Linked DNA regions of Homo sapiens: all the other regions are linked to region 1. Evidence: promoter capture Hi-C in 16 types of primary human blood cells and fetal thymus (Javierre and others, 2016). All regions are on one chromosome and are shown on one strand. Each heading gives the region's core, a stretch centred on a gene start or on the middle of the fragment in contact. The rest is flanking DNA. Distances are from core to core; before and after follow the strand shown.

Region 1 (3,322 bases), core at 636-3,135:
GACTTACTTTATCCTTCAGGTAAAAGCTTCCTGAGAGCAGGAATCAGATCTGATAATAGGATTGCATAACTAGGAGAACAGAATCCCTCAGTTAGAAGCTGACAATGGGAAACTATGCTTTCTCCGCATCCTCCCCTCCCCCACTAAGTAGGCATTAGGCAATGTGAAGGCACAGTCTGTTTCTGTTTTAATCAGAGGTGTGAATATCTATTTTTTTCAATTCTAATTTTTAACACCTTTATTGAGATGTAATTAACATATTTGTAGTTCATTTGTTTAAAGTGTAAATTCAATGGTTTTCAGTATATTCACAGAGTTGGACAATCACCACCATAATTTTAGAACATTTTCATTACTTCACAAAGAAAACCTGTATCCATTGGCAGTAACTTCTCAATATCTCCCAGCCCGCTAAAGCACCTGGAAGCCACTGATATTTCTCAGAGGACAGGCATAAACATAAAAGGAGATACAGGGAACAGAATCTCATCCAGGCTCTTGTTCCTCGGATGCCCTGAGTCAGCTCTTCAGGGGTCCAGCCTGGGAGAGGCTGTAACTGGCTAAAGCCTCATCCCCTTTCTATTTCCAGAGATTTGCCTACTCTACACATTTCATATAAATAACATCATACAATATGCAGTCTTTTGTGACTGGCTTCTTTCACGTAGTGTAATGTTTTCAAGGTTCACACTCAATGTATCTGTTTAAACTAAATGAATAAATGACTGGGTAACTCTGTCTAGTGCAACCCTGAATCAGAACTCTGAATAACTAGATTCCTGGCTGACCCTCTACTTCCTGGTAGGAAAGGAGTTCCCTCTGCATAGGAGCCCCAAGAAATGATGTCTACTTCCCAAGACAGGTTTCAAATAATCTAAGTGTCTGGTGGAGTTAAGCTCTCTGAGGGTAAGGGCTCTATATGGGCAATTAATGACACATAAGACCGGGGCAAGTATCCAATACATGGCATTAGTTTTTCTATTAAACATATATTTATTAAGGGTCTATCAGGCACAAAATGTCATACTTAGCTCTTTCTTGCTTCTCACTTTATATTACAAACAGCTCAGTGAGATAGGTATATCTCACTGATAGGTTTATAATGGGCATTATATGTGAGAACTGATACTCACAGTGAGTATCATAGTAATACTCTAGCAATTATTGATAATTGTTACAGCAACTTTCAGAGATTACCCAGTTATCATATGCAAGTTTTCTGATTCCAGTAGCACATTCAATACAAGTCCTCTGACTGAAGGAAATGTTTAGATTTTAGAGGGAATTGTTTATTCTCAATCATTCTCCTTGCTTTAGGTGACAGAATCAACTCAGATTTAATCCACCGAATCTGCTTGCCATGGTGAGTCGGAGGAAAAGCAGAAACACAGAGGCCAGGAGGAAGGGCTGAGAGCCTAGGCAAGGGAGGGATGCCTAGAAAAAGCCAAGGCTGTAGAAGCCCTCTGGGATGGCTGGATCCACAGCAGGACATGGAAGAGAAACTGCTCAGGGTGGAGGGAGTCATAATGGAACATTTCCACAAGGTCAGGGAAAGCTGTGGCTCAGAACTGATGTTTCCTCAGAGGACATGCATTAAAAAAATGCAGGGAACAGAATCTTGTCCAGGTGTGGGTCCCTTGGGTACCCTAAGTTAACTCTTTAGGGTTCCCACCTGGTGGAGGCTCTGACTGGCTACAGCCTCTCTAGACTGCAGCCCCAGAGAGGAGTCCTGGAAGCTCCTGAGGCCTCTTTGGATTGCAGGGACTAAGAGGCAGGAGAATGTCAGGAATGACCCAGCGTGTGCCTGGTTGTGCAAGAGCCACCTCCTGCTCTTTCCAGAGCCAAGCCTGGGCCCTATAAAAGACACATCCAGCTTCAGCATCTCATCTGCTCTGACTCCCCAGGGACGTGTCTGTGCTCCTGCGTGTGACCAGGGTGAGTGGCAACCTGGGATACCAGAGGGGTATGAGCAAGGCAGAGGGATGGGGAGGATGGAGGTAGGCTGGAGAAAGAGTTGTGTGCTTGTGTTCTGCCATACTGAGCAGGAATGGGACTCAGCCTGCCTCGAATCTGTTGAGGCTCTGAGGCCTACCGGAGCTCATATAGGTGGGGAAAGCTAACTGTGCACATCTTTTCCAATTCTGTGTTCAGTGACTTCATGTTGGTAACTTCAAAACTGCTGTGTTGGGCATATTTACACCATGGAAACTGGCAAATACTTCAAGCCAGGCTCTTTTATCTGGAGGTTTCATTGCAAAATATTTTCCAGAGGACCCCTTGGTATGTCCTGCAACACCCAGCTTGTCCTTAGGGCTTGTATTAAAGGAATAGGTACTTCAGGGAGCTGTGAATACTCTATTCGGGCTTGTGAGGATAGAGCAATCGCAGTTTCCCCTGAAAGGAAGAGTAAGAAGCTCATTCTGTTGATTTTTTATCTACGTACTTTTATCTAGAGGAAAGATTCAAGTTGTTTCTTTCAGGTTACTGATGTGATTGTATTATCTAAATATCATTCTTCTTCTACACATGCATTGATTTTAGAAGAGGTATAATATGATCCTTGGTTTGAAATATTTAAAGAGTTTCATTATTATCTTTCAGGTTGACTAAACTCCTGCCAGCATGTCTTGCCAGCAAAACCAGCAGCAGTGCCAGCCCCCTCCCAAGTGTCCTCCCAAGTGTACCCCAAAATGTCCACCTAAGTGTCCCCCCAAATGCCCACCACAGTGCCCAGCTCCATGTTTCCCTGCAGTCTCTTCTTGCTGTGGTCCCAGCTCTGGGAGCTGCTGTGGTCCCAGCTCTGGGGGCTGCTGCAGCTCTGGGGCTGGTGGCTGCTCCCTGAGCCACCACAGGCCCCGTCTCTTCCACCGGCGCCGGCACCAGAGCCCCGACTGCTGTGAGAGTGAACCTTCTGGGGGCTCTGGCTGCTGCCACAGCTCTGGGGGCTGCTGCTGACCTGGGCTACAGAAGAGCTCTTGGGACTGAATGGCCAAGAACCTGCTACGGCCTGATGGATACTCTTTCCACTTCCTCTCATTCCATTCATTGGTTGGCAGAGACCACAAAGACTCATGGGGCTTTCCTGGAAGAACTTCGTGCTTGATGTAACACCCCAATTGCAAGTCTTCTTTTCCTCCTTTACCTCATGTTATAATAAAGCTCTGATCTCTGACTCACTAAATGTCTTGGTCATTCTCTTCTCTTCTGAGATTTCAAATGTCCTCCAAAGGTCAGGGCCTCAGAGTAATTTTCTTCATGAGGCTAGGACAGGACATGAGTAGGTGATACATGAAAAGCTGCTCTGAGGAACTGATTCCCCCAG
Region 2 (3,509 bases), core at 940-3,439, 75 kb before region 1:
GGAATCCTCTTATGTGTGATGTGCTGGCTTGAGGGAGGGACAGTGTGGTCAAAGTAAAACCTCCTCTTGCTCTACGTGTGTGGTTTTTCTCAGTACTGTGGTCCAAGGGGATGTCTGTGCCTCACTTCAAGTTCTGAGATATTCACAAGGGTATCCTTGTCTGCTGTTGGTTGCTAGTTGGATTTCTGTGGTGGGACTACTGGAGTCAGAGAATTCCTATTCTATTATATTTCTAACATCTCCCCTAGTATGAACATTTTAGCAACATTCACTTTTCCAGTCTGTGAACATGTAATATCTTTCTATTTGTGTCTTCATTTTCTTTCCTCAATGTTTTATAGTTTTTAGTATACAGATCTTTCACTTCTTTGGTAAAATTTATTCCTAAGTATTTTTTGGATGATATTATAAATGGGATTTTTAACTTCTTTTTTTGGATAGTTGTTATGGTATGTGTAAGTGCTACTGATTTCTGTACGTTGATTTTGTATTAAAGTCTTAAACATAAGACCTGAAATTTTAAAACTACTGGAGTAAAACACAGGGGGAAAACTTCTTGACATTAGACCTGGGCAAATATTATTTTTGAATTTTGACCCTAAAAGTACAGGCAACAAAATAAAAAATAGACAAATGTGGTTGCATCAAAGTAAAAAGCTTCTGCAAAATAAAGCAAACAGTTAATGGAGTGAAGAGACAACATACAGTATGTGATAAAATATCTGTGAACTACACATCTGATAAGGAGTTAATATTCAAAATATTTTAGAAACTCAAACAACTCAGTAGCAAGAAAACACATAAACCAATCAAAAAAGTGGGCACAGGGAGTTTCCCAAAAGAAGCCATACAAATGGCCTACAGTATATATAAAAATGTGCTCAACATCGCTAATAATCAGGGAAATGCAAGTTAAAAACACAATATCACCTCACATCTGCTAGAATGGCTATTATCAAAAGACAAGAAATAACAAGTATTGGCAAAGATTTGGAGAAAAGGGAACCTTTTTACAGTATTAGTGGGAAAGTAAAGTAGTATGGCCATTGTGGAAAACAGTGTGAAGTTTCCTTAAAAAATTAAAAATGAAACTACTATGTGATTCAACAATCCCACTACTGGGTATATAGCTAAAGGAAATGAAATCAGTATTTTGAAGAGATATCTGCACTCCCAAATTTATTGCAGCATTGTTTACTACAGTCAAGATATAGAATCAACCTAAGTGTCCTTTAGTGGGTAAATGGATTAAAAAACATGTTATATAAGTGTAATGGAATACAACTCAGCCTTATATAAAAAGGGAAGTTTCTAATTTGTGACAACATGTATAAACCTGAAAGATATTATGCTAAGTAAAATAAGCCAGATATAGAAAGACAAATATTCGTGATCTCACTTTTATGTGGAATCCTAAAAAGTCGAGTGCGTGGAAGTAGAAATGATCATTATCAGGGGTTGGGTTGGGGAGTGGGGAAGAACTGGGGAGATGTTGGTCAAAGGATACAAAATTTCAATAAGACCGGAGTAATAAATTCAGGAGATTTATTGTACAGCATGATGACTATAACAATGTATTGTATTTTTGAAAATTTCTAAAAGAGTAGACTTTGAGTGGTCTTATTACAAAAAATGGTAAGTGTGTCCAGCTGTCATTCCTGGAGAACACCTGAAAACCATCACCCTTTGGGACCATCAGTGCAATAGAGGACTGACTTACAAAGGCTGTGGTCTTAGGCTTGAAGTCTTTTTAAACACTTCTGTGATAGTGCTTATTCTGTCAGATCAAATATATTTACTTTTCTGAGTGATAGTCCATTTAGGCTGTAAGGTGCTCAATGGAAGAAATATGTCCGATACATCTCCATACTACTACTGTTGAAAGAAGTAAAACGAACAGAGCTTGGAATGAACAAGCAGAGGTGGGCAGGAGGTACAGGGTGGACCAGAGTGGGAAGTACTTCTGCAGTCACGAGGACATCCTGCTTCCATCTTATTAAATCTTTAGGCATGTGCCCAGGAAGACACAGGGGTCATCTTATTACACCTTTAGGCACATGCTGAGGCAGCAGGCAACTGGGAAGTGTCTGGTGCTGTCACCTCCCTGGTTGTGAAAACAGCAGCATACTCAGGTTGTGCATCATCGTGTACACTGCACGGGATAAAAGGGCTCCTACCCTGGGCTTCTCATCCACAGCATCCTTAGGAGCAGCCTTCTTCTCCTACCTCCTCTGCATCTGGTGAGTGGCCAGCAGGGGACAGATCCTCAGCTGGGAGTGTTTGGGAAAGAGAGGCCCAGAACTGAAATGGAACCATCAGAAAGAAGCCCACAGTGGGCAGCAGTGGGGGAGGTGATGGAGAATAAGGAGCCTCTAAAGCACATGTCAGGGACCCGTGAGCTGCAAAACCCGCAGGACCTTAGGATTCCTTCACATTCTTGTTTGGAGCATGTTGTCAGGAATGCACATAGATCCATTTTATATTTTTAAGGTTGCTTTATCCAAATGCATGTGTAGGGTTCCCTCTACTACATTCCCATTTCTCTCCTACAGATCTTGGCTTAGAAAGTGGCTTCATCAAGGGGGTCAGTGTGTGACAAACCCAAAAATAAGGAGATGGTCTGAGGGTTCTGTGCTCAAATGTTTCTATTATTCTGTTCAAGGTAAAATTCCTGCATTCCTGCAAAGATGTCCTGCCAGCAAAACCAGCAGCAGTGCCAGCCCCCTCCCAGTTGTCCCTCACCCAAGTGTCCCCCAAAGAGCCCAGCACAGTGTCTGCCTCCACCCTCTTCTGACTGTGCTCTAAGCTCCGGGGGCTGTGGCCCCAGTTCTGAAAGTGGCTGCTGCCTGAGCCACCACAGGCACTTCAGGTCCCATCAATGCCGGCGCCAGAGATCCAACTCCTGTGACAGGGGCAGTGGTCAGCAAGGCGGGGGCTCCTGCCGTGGCCATGGCTCTGGGGGCTGCTGCTGACCTGGATCCTGATGATGAGACAAGTGATCTTTGGAGGAAACAAGGATCCCAAAGGCCCAGGAAAAGCTCCATCCTGATGCATGCTTTTCCAGATACCTTGTTCTGGCTTTCACAAGCTGAGCTGGGGGTGTTCCTGTTGAGTATCCAAGCTGTCCCCAGAAGGTGCTTCCTGTCTGGTGTATAGGATCTCACAGTTCCCTCATCCCTGCCCCTGCCAAGGATTGGCAGTTCCCTGTGCCTAACCCTGCCAAAAAATAAAGCTTCTTGTTCTCATTACCACGGTGTCTCACTTGTTAGGAAACTATCCAGGATTTATCCATCCAGGCCAGGTTCTCCTGTCACCCGAACTCGCAGGACCTTAGAAAGCCAGAGATTTAAGTGTGTTACCCCTGGTAGAGGTGACCCCAGAGAGCTGACCTCATGCTCGGGCAAGTAACTGGGCTGTGTTCTCCCAGCCAACCCTCTGTCATCACAGGACACCTGCTCAGCCTCAGACCTGTGTAGTTTTTGCTCTGATGACAAACAGAGGAGCGAGGA
Region 3 (3,761 bases), core at 194-2,693, 95 kb before region 1:
AGATGTCAGAAACATCTAGTAGCTAGCTCCTCCTACGACTGGGGAGTCCATTATGAGAGGACAATCACATTTCAGTCATTCTTTTCTGACAGTTAGAGGCCTCACTACAACCCCTCTCATCACATCCTGTCCCCCACTGCCGCACAATTCCAGCAGAAAAGGACTCGACAGATTCCTGAATTTTGCAGACCTAGAGCTAGAATTCTGCATCTTCCCTGTGGTGGTGCTGGATGTCAGGGGCAGACAGGAGGGCACACTTCCAGCCCCACCTAGGGAGAGACAGAGTGAAATGCCAAGGGAGACACCAGTGGTAATGAGGACAAGGAGCTTTATTTTTTGATGAGGTCAGGCACAAGCACTGCCAATCCTTCACAGGTACAGGGGTAAGGGAACATGTGACATCCTGGACATCAGACAGGAAGTGCCTTCTGGGGAGAGCTCAGACCTTCCACAGGAAAACCCCTAGCTCAGCCTGTGAAAGCCAGAAGAGGGTATCTGGGAACTCATGCATCAAGATGGGGTTTTCCTGGGCCCTTGGGATTCTTGTTTCCTCCAAAATCGCTTGTCTCAGCATCAGGATCCAGGTCAGCAGCAGCCTCCAGAGCCATGGCCGCAGCCAGAGCCCCCGCCTTGCTGACCACTGCCCCTGTCACAGGAGTTGGGCCTCTGGCGCCGGCATCGGTGGTGGCGCCTGTGGTGGTTCAGGAAGCAGCCGCCCTCGGAGCTAGGGCCACAGCCCCCAGAGCTTGGGGCACAGCCAGAGGAAGCTGGAGGCAGACACTGTACTGGGCTCTTTGGGGGACACTTGGGTGAGGGACACTTGGGTGGGGGTTGGCACTGCTGCTGGTTCTGCTGGCAGGACATCTTGGCAGGAGTTGAGTTGTCCTGGACAAAACAAAGCCATTTGTTAGTCCAAAATCTACAGTCCAATGTCTCTAAGACCAGCGGCCTCCTGAGGCAAGAGCTGCAGGAAGGTGAGGGAAGCTGATGTGGAGTTGGTGGGACATGCCAGATGCCTCTCACTTTGTTCTCCACCAGGGACAGATTGCTGTGAGTCTAAGTGGGCATCCATGTTTCTGTTTCTCCAAAGAGCCTCTAGGAATGTACCCTTTTGACAAAAGGCATTCTGGAGAATGGAGATCATAGGAAACATGTGCCAGCCTGAGTAGAAAGAGGATGGGAAGGAATCATAAGCTTCTGTGGCCTTTGCAGGTCATGGAATTGCTGTCAGTTCCTGCAGGGTCTCCCTCCTGGCCCCAGTTCCCACATTGGTACCCTCTCTGCCATCCTCTCTCCGGGCTTTTGTTTCAGATCTCTCCATTTCCCTCTCCTGCTATGACCTTAGTTTTCTGTTCCAACATCCCAAGTTGAGTCCCATCCCCTGCTGGACACTCACCAGGTGCAGAGGAGGCAGGAGAAGGCTGTTCCTGAGGAGACGGTGGATGAGGAGCCCAGGGCAGGAGTGCTTTTATCTTGTGCACGGTGTGTGATGCACAGCCTGGGCATGCTGCTGCTTTCACAACCAGGGGAGGTGTCAACAAGGCACACGCCCAAGACTAGGTTTGTAGCTTTGGCACTTCCATAATATCCAACCAATGACATTGAACCTGGAAGCAGGATCACTGTCCACATACCTCTCACCTGGGAGGCTACCACTGCTTCTTTTCTTCCTCCCTTCTTCCTTGTTTCAACTCACGTGCTGTGGAGCACAGTCTGTCCTTTACAATTTCCTGGGAATTAGTATGACATAATTCTTTCTTGAGTCATGACTGGAGAAATAATAGTCATTTCAACAAATAGAGATGAAATAATTGGACGTCCATATGTAAAAGAAATCATACCTAATGCTAGATATAAAAATTAATAGATCATAATTTAAAAAATTAAACTATGAAACTTCTGCAATAAAACATAATAAATCTTTGTGACTTTGGGTTATGCAAAATTTTTCAGATATGCCAAAAAGGTACAATTCAAAAAAGAAATATAGGACTTCATCAAAATTAAAAACTTCTGCTTTTCAAAAGGCACTGCTAGGCAAATGCAAAGAAAATTCACAGACTTGGAGACAATATTGTAAAACACAAATCTTACCAAGGACTTGGTTCAAGAATTTTTTTTTTATTTTTATTTTTTGAGACGGAGTCTTGCTCTGTCGTCCAGACTGAAGTGCAGTGGCGCGATCTTGGCTCACTGCAAGCTCTGCCTCCCGGGTTCTCGCCATTCTCCCTGCTCAGCCTCCCAAGCAGCTGGGTCTACAGGCGCCTGCCACCACACCCAGCTAATTTTTTTGTATTTTTAGTAGAGATGGGGTTTCACTGTGTTAGCCAGGATGGTCTCTATCTCCTGACCTGTGATCCACCCGCCTCGGCCTCCCAAAGTGGTGGGATTACAGAGCCACTGTGCCCGGCCAATGTTTTTTAAATTCTCAAAAATAGGTAATAACACAGAAAATATGGGCAAAGTATTTGAAGAGTCATTTTAACAAAGAAGATATATGGGTGGCAGTTAAGCACATGAAAAGATACTCAACCTAATCAGTCATTAGAGAAATGCAATTTAAAAGCAAAGTGAGATACCACTCTATACACATTGGAATGGCTAAAATGAAATAAATGACAATATCAAGTAATATGAGGGATGTAGAACAACAAGAAGCCCAAGTCATTGCTGGTAGAAATGCAAAATTACATTAGTTGGCAGTCTATCAAAAAAATTAAACATACAACTTACAATTTGCCCCAGAAATCCTATTCTTAGATATTTAGCCAAAAGAAATATAGTTGTATGTTCACAGAAAAACCTGTAGCCCAACATTTATAGTGGCTTTATTCATAACTGCCCTGAATTTGAAGAACCCCACAAGATCTTCAACTGATGAATAGAGTTTTAAAAATGGTATATTTATGCAATGGAAGGCTACTTAGCAATAAAAAAGGAATCAACTACTGATATATAAAACAACAGGGATGAATCTCAAATGCAAAAGAAGTCAGACTTTACATACTACATATTATATAATTTTAATTATAGGGCATTCTTGAAAAGGCAAAATTATAAGAACTGAAAATAGGTCAGTGGTTGCCAAGGGCTGGTATGAGGGAGAGGCTGATTTAATAAGCAGATGAGGGAATATTTTGAGGTGATAGAACTGTTGTATGTCTTAGTTGTTGTGGGGTTTACCTGACTATATATGTTAGTTAAAGCTCATAGAATTGGATAATTAAATGGATGATATTTTGGTATACAAAATCTCAAGAAATGAAACTTAAAATAGAAAAAACAATTAAAATAACAATTTTTAGAAATAAAAAATAATGAAATATACCAAAAGGGAAGCAAAGAATGATGAATACAAGATTTAGGATCATGGTTATATTAGATGGGACAGGCAGGGACATGGGTGAAGGCTGAATTACACAGGTGCATATAATTTACTATCAAAGTTATCATTTTCGCTTGGATGGTGAATTTTTGTGTGTTTGTTATTTAAATAATAGACAAACAGGTAGGCACATTAATTAAGAAGGCCAAGCATGGATGAATTGTGAGCATATAATATGAACAGAGGGTATTTGTTAATCTAATTTTGTGCTTCTGAAATCCAATAGTAAGAAAATTAAATGACATAAACTCCACGACAACTTGGACAACTTCCCAAGTTGCCATTGATGGCTTGCTCATCTCATCTTCCCCAAGAATGACTCAGCTGCTTTTCATAGCATCAGTCATATATTGCAAAGGAGAAGGGTTGATCCTTG

Evidence for each region. Contacts are between HindIII fragments. The CHiCAGO score rates a contact against its expected background, and 5 or more counts as called.
Region 2: a contact is called between the fragment with the promoter of LCE3C here and the fragment with the promoter of LCE2C in region 1, in 2 of 17 cell types (activated CD4 T cells and naive CD8 T cells). The highest score is 6.8, in activated CD4 T cells.
Region 3: a contact is called between the fragment with the promoter of LCE3D here and the fragment with the promoter of LCE2C in region 1, in 11 of 17 cell types (neutrophils, total CD4 T cells, activated CD4 T cells and 8 more). The highest score is 19.5, in neutrophils.

Annotation. Positions count from the first base shown.
Region 1 is chr1:152,673,394-152,676,715 of GRCh38, forward strand. It overlaps LCE2C (late cornified envelope 2C), which reads left to right and starts at 1,886. Exons shown (of 2, transcript NM_178429.5): 1 at 1,886-1,935; 2 at 2,602-3,176. The coding sequence starts at 2,623. The coding sequence ends at 2,955. The HindIII fragment of the contact is 8,836 bases long and covers 25-3,322 here.
Region 2 is chr1:152,598,045-152,601,553 of GRCh38, forward strand. It overlaps LCE3C (late cornified envelope 3C), which reads left to right and starts at 2,190. Exons shown (of 2, transcript NM_178434.3): 1 at 2,190-2,240; 2 at 2,663-3,042. The coding sequence starts at 2,688. The coding sequence ends at 2,972. The HindIII fragment of the contact is 2,575 bases long and covers 656-3,230 here.
Region 3 is chr1:152,579,073-152,582,833 of GRCh38, forward strand. It overlaps LCE3D (late cornified envelope 3D), which reads right to left and starts at 1,444. Exons shown (of 2, transcript NM_032563.2): 1 at 1,397-1,444; 2 at 309-885. The coding sequence starts at 864. The coding sequence ends at 586. The HindIII fragment of the contact is 6,032 bases long and covers 1,193-3,761 here.